2 separate regions of the Homo sapiens genome follow, and region 1 is linked to region 2. Evidence: promoter capture Hi-C in human tissues and cell types (Jung and others, 2019). All regions are on one chromosome and are shown on one strand. Each heading gives the region's core, a stretch centred on a gene start or on the middle of the fragment in contact. The rest is flanking DNA. Distances are from core to core; before and after follow the strand shown. Region 1 overlaps MRPS9-AS2 (MRPS9 antisense RNA 2). Region 2 holds the start of POU3F3 (POU class 3 homeobox 3).

Region 1 (4,612 bases), core at 1,906-4,405, 81 kb after region 2:
CCAATGCTTACCAGTGCTTTACTAGAGTTTTTACTTAAATGAAAACCTTAGAAAGTTGTTTGGGAATGAGGTGGAAGAGACTCCGGGGTGACCAAATGACAAGTAAAGTTCCCAGGCCAGAATGAACAAATCTAGAGTGAAAGGAAGCTGAGATTGGTGAGAAGACACAGTGTCTGTCTGAACTAGTGAAAAACAAGGCAGGAAGTTCCAGGAGGAGAAGGGATGGAGGAGGGAGAAACTTGTAAAAGCAGGCAAAATTGTTCCAACAGGCCATAGGGCACTAGGTGTCTCACTGGCATTTTCACGTTGTGATTACTCTCACTTTCCGTATCTTCTTGCTTACATCACTTAAATCCAGTCACCCAAACCAAAGATTAGTAAAAACGAGACATATGATAATATTCGTAATAGGTGTTTAGCCTCTGCCTACAGAACCTCAAAGCACATTAATTTAGAGGAAAATAAGCAGTTATCTGACCTATTTGGGGGTGGGGAACCCAAGCACTTATTTACATTTTTAATTTCCATTCCCCTATTAGTGAATGTTAGTGTGTTGTCTAAAACTGCAGTAATCCAGGGATGATCTGTCTTTGAACACGTAGGGAACCATTAAGGGAAACAGCACCTCAGTTATGGGAGTGGGACGAACTGACTGTGTTTCCAATTATTTACATGAACAAGATGCTGAACACGACCATATCTCCAACTGATGTGCTTTTATGTGTAGCTTTTCTGTCACTGGTGTTGCACATAGTGGGTACTAGGTAAATGATTTTGAATTAAAGAGATTAATTTGCCTGTTTCCAATATGATTTTTACCATATGAAAAAAAAAAAAACCCCAGCGACATATTCGTGAACCGAGAGAGTTAGCGGGTGAAAGCTTTACCTTTCAAGACACACGGAGAGCTAAGGCAGAGGTTTTGATTGCACGGGCAGCCCTAGATCAGCCCTTAGCTGGACTAAACACACTTCTAGATATTGTGTTTGTTGCTATTTTGTTGTAAGCAATAGGAGGTCCCTTTGGTAAAAGTTAAAGAATGATAAGCAAAACAATAAATAGATGTTGTTGGGACTTGGAGAATCTAATTTACAAGTACCCACTTAACGTCTTCAACTACAAAATTCAGATATCCACATTTATTTTTGTGATGGCCATGCAAAATTGTGTGGAAGGAGAGATGATTTACAATGTCAGAAAACAAGGCTGTTGCTAGAGAAATTTTCTTGGGGTTTCAAGATAGGTCACATACTATTTTGGCCATGAAACAAACAACATGTGTAAGGCCTGGCAGACATGAAGCAGCTGAAATAACGATCATACCAAACATAAATGAAAATGATCCATCCTGCATACACAACTCCAGTGCTTTCGGAGAAATGAGGGTTTTACTTCTTTTCCAGATACTGGAAAGTTTTACCCTAATAAAGTCCAGGGACAGTGTGATAGTGAATCAGGAGAATCGGGGGATGGAGGAATCCAAGTCCCCACACTCTCAGTGGATTTTGGGAAGAAAATTCAAGGGGAACTGTGGTGCTGTAAAAGGCATGCTGTCTTTCTGAAGAGGCGTTGTTTTGATCATTCCATAGGTAGACGCTGCTTTGAGCAATACTTTTGGCATTACTTTGAGTCATGCCAAACACGCTTTGCGTCCTTGATTAAGAATTGCACCTATACGCACATTCCTGGGCATGGTCTATTCTGTTTCATTATCATGCACCCAGCAACAGACCAACTTCTGCTGAACAATTAGGAGGTCATAGACCTGATCAGGAAGACTGTGGCCCCCACCTTCAGGAAGCTTACAATCTACTTAGAAACATAACACACACATACACCCATAAAGAGATCATAAACCTTAGCAGGGCGTGGCATGCCGCTGCAGTACCAGCTACTTGGGAGGCCAAGGCGGGGGGACAGCTTGAACCCAGGTGTTCGAGGCTGCTGCACTCTGCATCCAACCTGGGCAACAGAGTGAGACCCTGTCTCTAAAAAAGCTAACAATAAATAATAATAATTTTATAAAACTAAAAAGAGACCATAAACTCACTTTTTAGGTGGCCAAGCATTTCCACATAAGCAATGGAGAGTGCTCACTTTTCAGAGAGCCTCCAGAAAAGGGAGAAAGCTTTCTTCAGACCCAGTGGCCAGGGCGCTTTGCAATAGTGCAGAATTCGACACACAAAGATCGCTATTATGGATGGACAAGGAGCAGCCAAGAGAAGAAAAGGGGCAGATCTGTGACTCAAGCGGCAGCCCTTGCAATGGGAATAATCCTCATCCTCCACGTGTGCTGTGTGTGATACAGGCTTCCCAGGAAGGGCACTGGCCAAGCCCCTGCTCCACCGAAGGGGACTGTAGCTTTGCTTCACTCTCCCTCCCTGCTTAATCACTGGCTCAAATGACAATCCACCCCAGGCAAACGATGCTCACACAGAGAAAAGGACAGCCAGGCCAAGAACAAATTTTTCTAAAAGTTTTCTTTTTTTTTTTCTACATCATCTCAACCTTCCTTTTTAAATAAATGGACTTGCAAATAGACCTAACTTCAAAGATCTCATTGGTCGGCCTTCACTGTTTAGGTATCCGGGCAGGGAACCATTCAAGATATTATTCTTATTTTTTTTAAATCTTCTTTTTCTATCTTTTCAATAGCATCTGGATGATCTTTCCATTCTTGTCTAGTGATAATGAAATCATTAAAAAATGTACCAGAACCCTTTTTGCTTATCTCTGTGCCATTTGGAACATATGTGAATAAATTGAACACCACTTGCTCATTGATTTTCTTTTTTTTCCCTCTTCCCTTGTTTTTAAAAGCCCTGTTTGAAATCAGTCACTGAAAGAGCCGGCATCTGAGTTAACGTCTGACGATGGGAGGTACGCCTCAACGTCGTCCACATGGCCTTGATCTAGACAGCGAGCCACAACCTACCCAGCACATTTTTGTGGCTTAAGTGACCTGGAGTGTGGGGCTTTTCTTTGTTGAAGATTTTCTTTAGGTTTCAAGTTGATTTTACACCATTAATGGTAATTCCAGCTTGGGCATTGCACAAATAGTTCATAGATGACCATGGGGAATCCAGCTATGCTGTTGGGACTAGTAGCTAAACTCTCTTAGAGGGCTTGAGTTAGATCAAAGAGCATCTTTCCTTTTCTTGGAAACCACATTGCCAGCCTTTTCCAGCCAAAGGCCTGCTTGTGTTAAGTGAGAAGAGAGAGACTCATCCCAAAAGAGGCCGCCCTGGAAGAGATGGGAAAGACTTTTCCAGGAGGAGTTTGCTGAAAAGCATAAAAGGGTCAGCCTCCAGCTTATCACTCAAAAAAGTTTTTAAAGCCTTTTTAAGGAAACAATTTTAACCCAGCTGCACTTATTGATCAGTGATTTGATTTTGCTTTGTTAGGAGAGACTCGTAATCTGCTTTTAAATGTCTTTTGTTCCTGGCCTTCTTTGATAGCAAGTTCTGCCTAAGGCTACTTCTCAAAACTCATCACTGGAGTTTTCAAGTCTATGTGAATAACTAGAATAATTTTAATCTGGACCTTTCTTTATCCCCTACTACCTACCCACTCCTGTTTGCAGCAGAAAATGTTAGGTGGTTGTAAGAATTTTTTTTTAATCAAATTCTGCCAAACCTAAAACCTATAAAAAGGAATCATTTGTCCTTTCAAAGAGAGAGAGAAAGCAAGGGAGCAAACTCTATTTACAAAGTCAGAGGGAGTCAATCTGATTTTATTTTCTCAAGTACATTCAGTGAGTCTCAAAAAGAATGCAAGTTCTCAAGTCTTGCCTCTGCTTGGTATCAGCCACAATTAAAAAATAAATTTCAGAAATATATCTGAATCACTGTAGAACATAATTTTTTGGCAACAGATAGGTTTTATAGAAGCTTTTTTACTTGTAACTTTCAAAGGTTGTAATCATGCCTTTCATGACATTGTGAACTATAATTTTGTCTTGCTAAGCTACCATAAAAGAGTGGTTGTTTTATTATTATAGTATGCACTAAAAAACAGAACCTATGCTCCTCATTTAACTAATCACTTCTGATATTTCTCAAGCTAATGGGAACCAAAAACACTTATATCTGTTCGTAGATGTTCTTAATGAAATGCACACTTTTTTTATAATGTAAGCATATGCGTACACATGTATGAACTTTACAAGTTTATTTAGCAAGAAAACAAATATGTGAGGAAAACAGACTTTTCAAGTGGTGCTTTAATTGTCGTTCATGCATGTTCTACAGATCATTACTGAATGTTTACAGGTCCTGCACGGAATGACTTTACACCAAAGAAGAGGGTAACGTATCCTCACTGTTTATAAAAATGACAGCCCCTAATGGACCATATTAGCTTTAACACAAACTATTAAATCTCCTTCATTACTTTTTTCTGTGTTCTGTTTCGGCATCTCGTTAGCTCTGAGAAGTGGGTGCAAACTCCTAAGGAAACATGAGCACACATTGAGACGATTAGAGATCATGGTTATTAGATAAGCCTCAGGAGGATGTTTTTCTTGGGTTGCTCACAAGCATTTTGAAAGAGTCGTGTTCCAGGTTTGAGATCCCATGTTTCTTCCTCTTAAACTATGAGCAGCTGTAGCACA
Region 2 (4,337 bases), core at 768-3,267:
TCCATCTTTTATATATACATATACGCATACGTAAATATAAAAAGCAACCTTTGGGGGCCGCAGAGGAAAAAAATCCGTTCTGTTTGGGGTTTGGTTACCACCGCCTTTGGTATCTATACCTTGGCAATAATGGCTTTGCTAAAACCTACCTACGATGGTATCTCACCCGGCAAGCAGGAGCTGGACAAGAGCCTACATAAATTCTACGCGTCTAGTGTTAATCTTGAGATCACGCGGGGGCTGCCTGGCTGCGGCTGGGCAGGAGAACTCCTGCTTTCACTGAGTTCACTTAACTGCGCTCGGCAGAGGCACGATACAGCGGGAGAGAAGGGCAGGCCCGTTCACATTTTAATCGGAGCGCACCGGCGGCCGCTCCTCGGCTGCGTCCTGGGCTGCCGCTCGGGCTCGGGACTGCCAGATGCAGGCTCTGGCTGGGGGCGGCGGGCGCAAGCGGGCGCACCCGCAGCTAGGGGTGCGGGGTGCACGCACACGCACGCTCATTAAGAGCCATGTATTTATTGAATGTCCGAGTTGGGTTAGTTCATTGGAAATCCCCGAGGAGGGCTCAATTTGCCCTTGTTTTCGTTGCCACTTTCTCTTTTTTCTTGGTTCGCTGAGGTTCCTCTGTGCAGCGTTTCCGCTTGGCCGCGTCCCCCCACCCCACCCCACCCCACCCCCGCTTCTCTCGCCTACCGGGTGCACTCCCCCTCCCATCCCCCTTAACTCTTTCAGCTGGGTTAGAGCTGAGAAAGCATTTGTCGCCGCCAGCCCCATCCACCACGCAAATCCATCTGAGACAGAAAGGAAAGAAAAAAAAGCACCACCATGCCTAAGAATAGAGAGCGAGCAAACCCCCCCACCGCTAATCACACACACACACACACACACACACACACACACACACGAGGAAGCGGTGGAGCAGAGAAGGGCGCGGCTAGCCGATCCCGGTTCTTTCGCCCGGCTCCTGCTGCCACAGGGAATTCCTAAAGCCATTGGGGTCGAATACACTTACGATGAATCTATGGGGGAAGGTCGGACTGATTGCTTTTCAAATACATCGCACGGCTCCGCTGACCGGCACCCTCCAAACTCACAAGGGCACGCACGCTACTTGCACGAATCCCAGAGGAGGGAGGAGGGAGGAAGGGAGGGAGAGCGAAGGAGGGAGAGAGGGGGTGGAGGAGCCAGGGAGCGGCGGCAGCGAGCGGTCCGTCTCGCACGCGCGGGCACCGCGCTGGTCCTGGGCTGCAGGTTTCCCAGATGATGGCATCCGAGAACTTAAACAAAGGGGGCTGCCGCCGGCGCGCAACGGCTGCGGAAAGTTGCGGTGGCGGATTTCCAAGGAGCGTGGCCACGACCAGAGCTCTTGGCGATGCGAGCCCCCGCTTCCCACCCCCGCCGATCAGAGAAGGGGGCCGGCTGGTGAAGGGAAGAGGAAACTTTGAAACCACTGGGGACACATCTGTCTATAGGTATTAGCTTGAATGGTACATCCGTGCCGCGCGCTTTACAAATCTCTGGCGGGGCGGGGGTAAGGGGGTGAGCAACCCGACGCGTACTAGGTGGGGTGGGCAGGTTGCTATTTTTCATGTTTCCCCCTTCGTTTTCCTTCTGATTCTCTTCCCCCCTCTCGTCCCTCCCTCCCTTTTATCTCCCCTTTCTTCCCCCCGCCCAGACCTATTGCGAACGCCCAGAGCCGCCGAGGGAACGCCAACGTCTGGGCCGGACACTAAGAGTTAAGATGTGGCGGAGGGGGCGGCGGGGGAGGGGCGGGGAGGGGAAAGTGGTGAGGGGGAGGGAGGCTGGAGGACGACAGATTTCCAGCTTCTACGACGCTCTGCCTAAATTAAAAAGCAACCAATCGGAACGGCCGGAAGGGGGGCCTCGCGTCCTGAGCCAGTCATTCCGAGCCTGCCAATCACCCAGCGGGTAGCCAATCAGCGGGGGCCCTGGTGCTCGACTTCCTTGTATTTGGGAAAGTGTGGTGGTGGGTGCGCGCTCGCGGCGGAGGGTAAACATTCGACAGTCCCCGCTCTGAGAGGGAGGGACAGAGAGCGAACTGTCAGATCGGAGCGAGAGCGGGCGCCCGAGAGAGGGAGAGAGAGAGAGGGAGGGAGAGGAAAAGTGAGAGAGGGAAAGAGAGCGCGAACGAGGGCGCAGAGCGAGCTCCTGCTGCAACTCTGCTCCAGCACGGCCAGCGCCAGCGCCCGCCGTCGGTGCACTCTACGAGCCGTGCAGCGTGCCCACTGGAGTTGTTGTGTATCAAGGATCGATCCCCTATATGCACACACACACCTCCACCTCCACCAATGCACTCTTCTTCCTCCTCCTTCTCCAGACAACTGCTGGGAAAAAAATAAAACACCAACCCCAACCGTCAGCAACAAGGTAACAGAGCGATTCGACATCATTTTTTTTCCTGTTCAATTTTTTCCTTGTTATATTTGTTTCCTAATTTCTGCCCAAAAGGAAAGATGTCGCATCAGACTGTGACTGTTGCGAGGAGAATGAAAAAGGACTCTTGTTTCAGAGGCAACCAAGAGCTCCGGCAATAGCAACTTCAGAGAAATGCACCATCGCAAGAAGTTTTCCTAGGACAGAACAAAACTTGAAACGAGAGGACCAGAGGGGGAGAGCAGGAGCCAGCCTCCCCTCTCCGCACTCGCGAGCAGCCAGCAGCACCACGCCTTCAAGGACGAAAAAGTTTTACTACTCTAAGGGAAAACGAGTGAAATGTGTTCCTGAGGAGGAGAGGAGAGGAGAGGAGAGAGCGGACAAGAGAAGGAGCGGGCCGGTTGCTGGTCATCCGTAATTTGGCTAAGGAAGAAAGGAGCAGCTTCTTTCTTTGTTATCTCCCGTGAAACCTTCACTTAGCAGGTGGACGGAGCCCCGCGACCGGGCAGAGTCCGGGCTCGCCCGAGGACAGGAGGAGGAGCGGGAGCCCGCGCGTCCCGGGAGAGCGCCCCGAGTGCAGGTCCCCGCCCCGCCCGGCGAGCCCCGCTGGAGCGAGCCCAGCGCGCCGGGGCTGGGGGGCGGCCACGACCCCCCCTGAAGGGGGTGGCCACGGAGCGCACCCCGAGAAGCGAGCCCCCCTCCCCAGAGCGCTGCTCCTGCGGCTGCTGCTGCTGCTGGTGACCAAGGCCGGCCGGCGACCCCCGCGCCCTGCCGAGCGGCCTTGCAGCTGCAGCCGGGGGCCGCGGCGGCGGCGGCGGCGGCGGGGGCGGAGGCGGCGGCGGAGGAGGAGGCGGCGAAGGCGGCGGGGCCGGCGGGGGCCCGGGGCGGGGGCGGGGAAGGAGGGGGGGAGGAGGCGGGAGGCGGGGGGCGCGGCGGCGGCGGCGGCGGCGGCGGCCGCGGCTGCTGCTGCGGCGGCGGCGGCGGTGGTGGCGGCGGTGGGGTGGCGGGAGCGGAGCGGCATGGCCACGGCGGCTTCTAACCCCTACCTGCCGGGGAACAGCCTGCTCGCGGCCGGCTCTATTGTGCACTCGGACGCGGCAGGGGCTGGCGGCGGCGGGGGTGGCGGCGGCGGCGGCGGCGGGGGCGGCGCAGGGGGCGGGGGCGGCGGCATGCAGCCGGGCAGCGCCGCCGTGACCTCGGGCGCCTACCGGGGGGACCCGTCCTCTGTCAAGATGGTCCAGAGCGACTTCATGCAGGGGGCCATGGCCGCCAGCAACGGCGGCCATATGCTGAGCCACGCGCACCAGTGGGTCACAGCCCTGCCCCACGCCGCCGCCGCCGCCGCCGCTGCCGCCGCCGCCGCCGTGGAGGCGAGCTCGCCGTGGTCGGGCAGCGCCGTGGGCATGGCTGGCAGCCCCCAGCAGCCACCGCAGCCGCCGCCGCCACCGCCGCAGGGCCCCGACGTGAAGGGCGGCGCCGGGCGCGACGACCTGCACGCGGGCACAGCGCTGCACCACCGCGGGCCGCCGCACCTCGGACCCCCGCCGCCGCCCCCACACCAGGGCCACCCTGGGGGCTGGGGGGCGGCCGCCGCTGCCGCAGCCGCAGCCGCCGCCGCCGCCGCCGCCGCGCACCTCCCGTCCATGGCCGGGGGCCAGCAGCCGCCGCCGCAGAGTCTGCTCTACTCGCAGCCCGGAGGCTTCACGGTGAACGGCATGCTGAGCGCGCCACCGGGGCCCGGCGGCGGCGGCGGCGGCGCGGGCGGTGGAGCCCAGAGCTTGGTGCACCCGGGGCTGGTGCGCGGGGACACGCCAGAGCTGGCCGAGCACCACCACCACCACCACCACCACGCGCATCCTCACCCGCCGCACCCGCACCACGCGCAGGGACCCCCGCACCACGGCGGCGGCGGCGGCGGCGCGGGGCCTGGACTCAACAGCCAC

Evidence for each region. The method cuts DNA at HindIII sites, captures the fragments that hold promoters and counts their contacts. A contact is called where the count stands out against the background at its distance.
Region 1: a fragment that was not itself captured here is called in contact with the fragment with the promoter of POU3F3 in region 2 in 3 of the 25 tissues and cell types used here (neural progenitor cells, small bowel and thymus).

The regions. Positions count from the first base shown.
Region 1 is chr2:104,932,086-104,936,697 of GRCh38, forward strand. MRPS9-AS2 (MRPS9 antisense RNA 2) reads right to left here. Exons shown (of 3, transcript NR_110603.1): 3 at 4,156-4,612. Among named protein-coding and RNA genes, the nearest start is that of DALIR, 27 kb to the left of the region's middle. The HindIII fragment of the contact is 5,964 bases long and covers 174-4,612 here.
Region 2 is chr2:104,852,098-104,856,434 of GRCh38, forward strand. It overlaps POU3F3 (POU class 3 homeobox 3), which reads left to right and starts at 2,018. Exons shown (of 1, transcript NM_006236.3): 1 at 2,018-4,337. The coding sequence starts at 3,414. It also overlaps a transcript of PANTR1 not described here. RefSeq lists a silencer at 364-413 and an enhancer at 1,622-2,211. The HindIII fragment of the contact is 12,067 bases long and covers 1-4,337 here.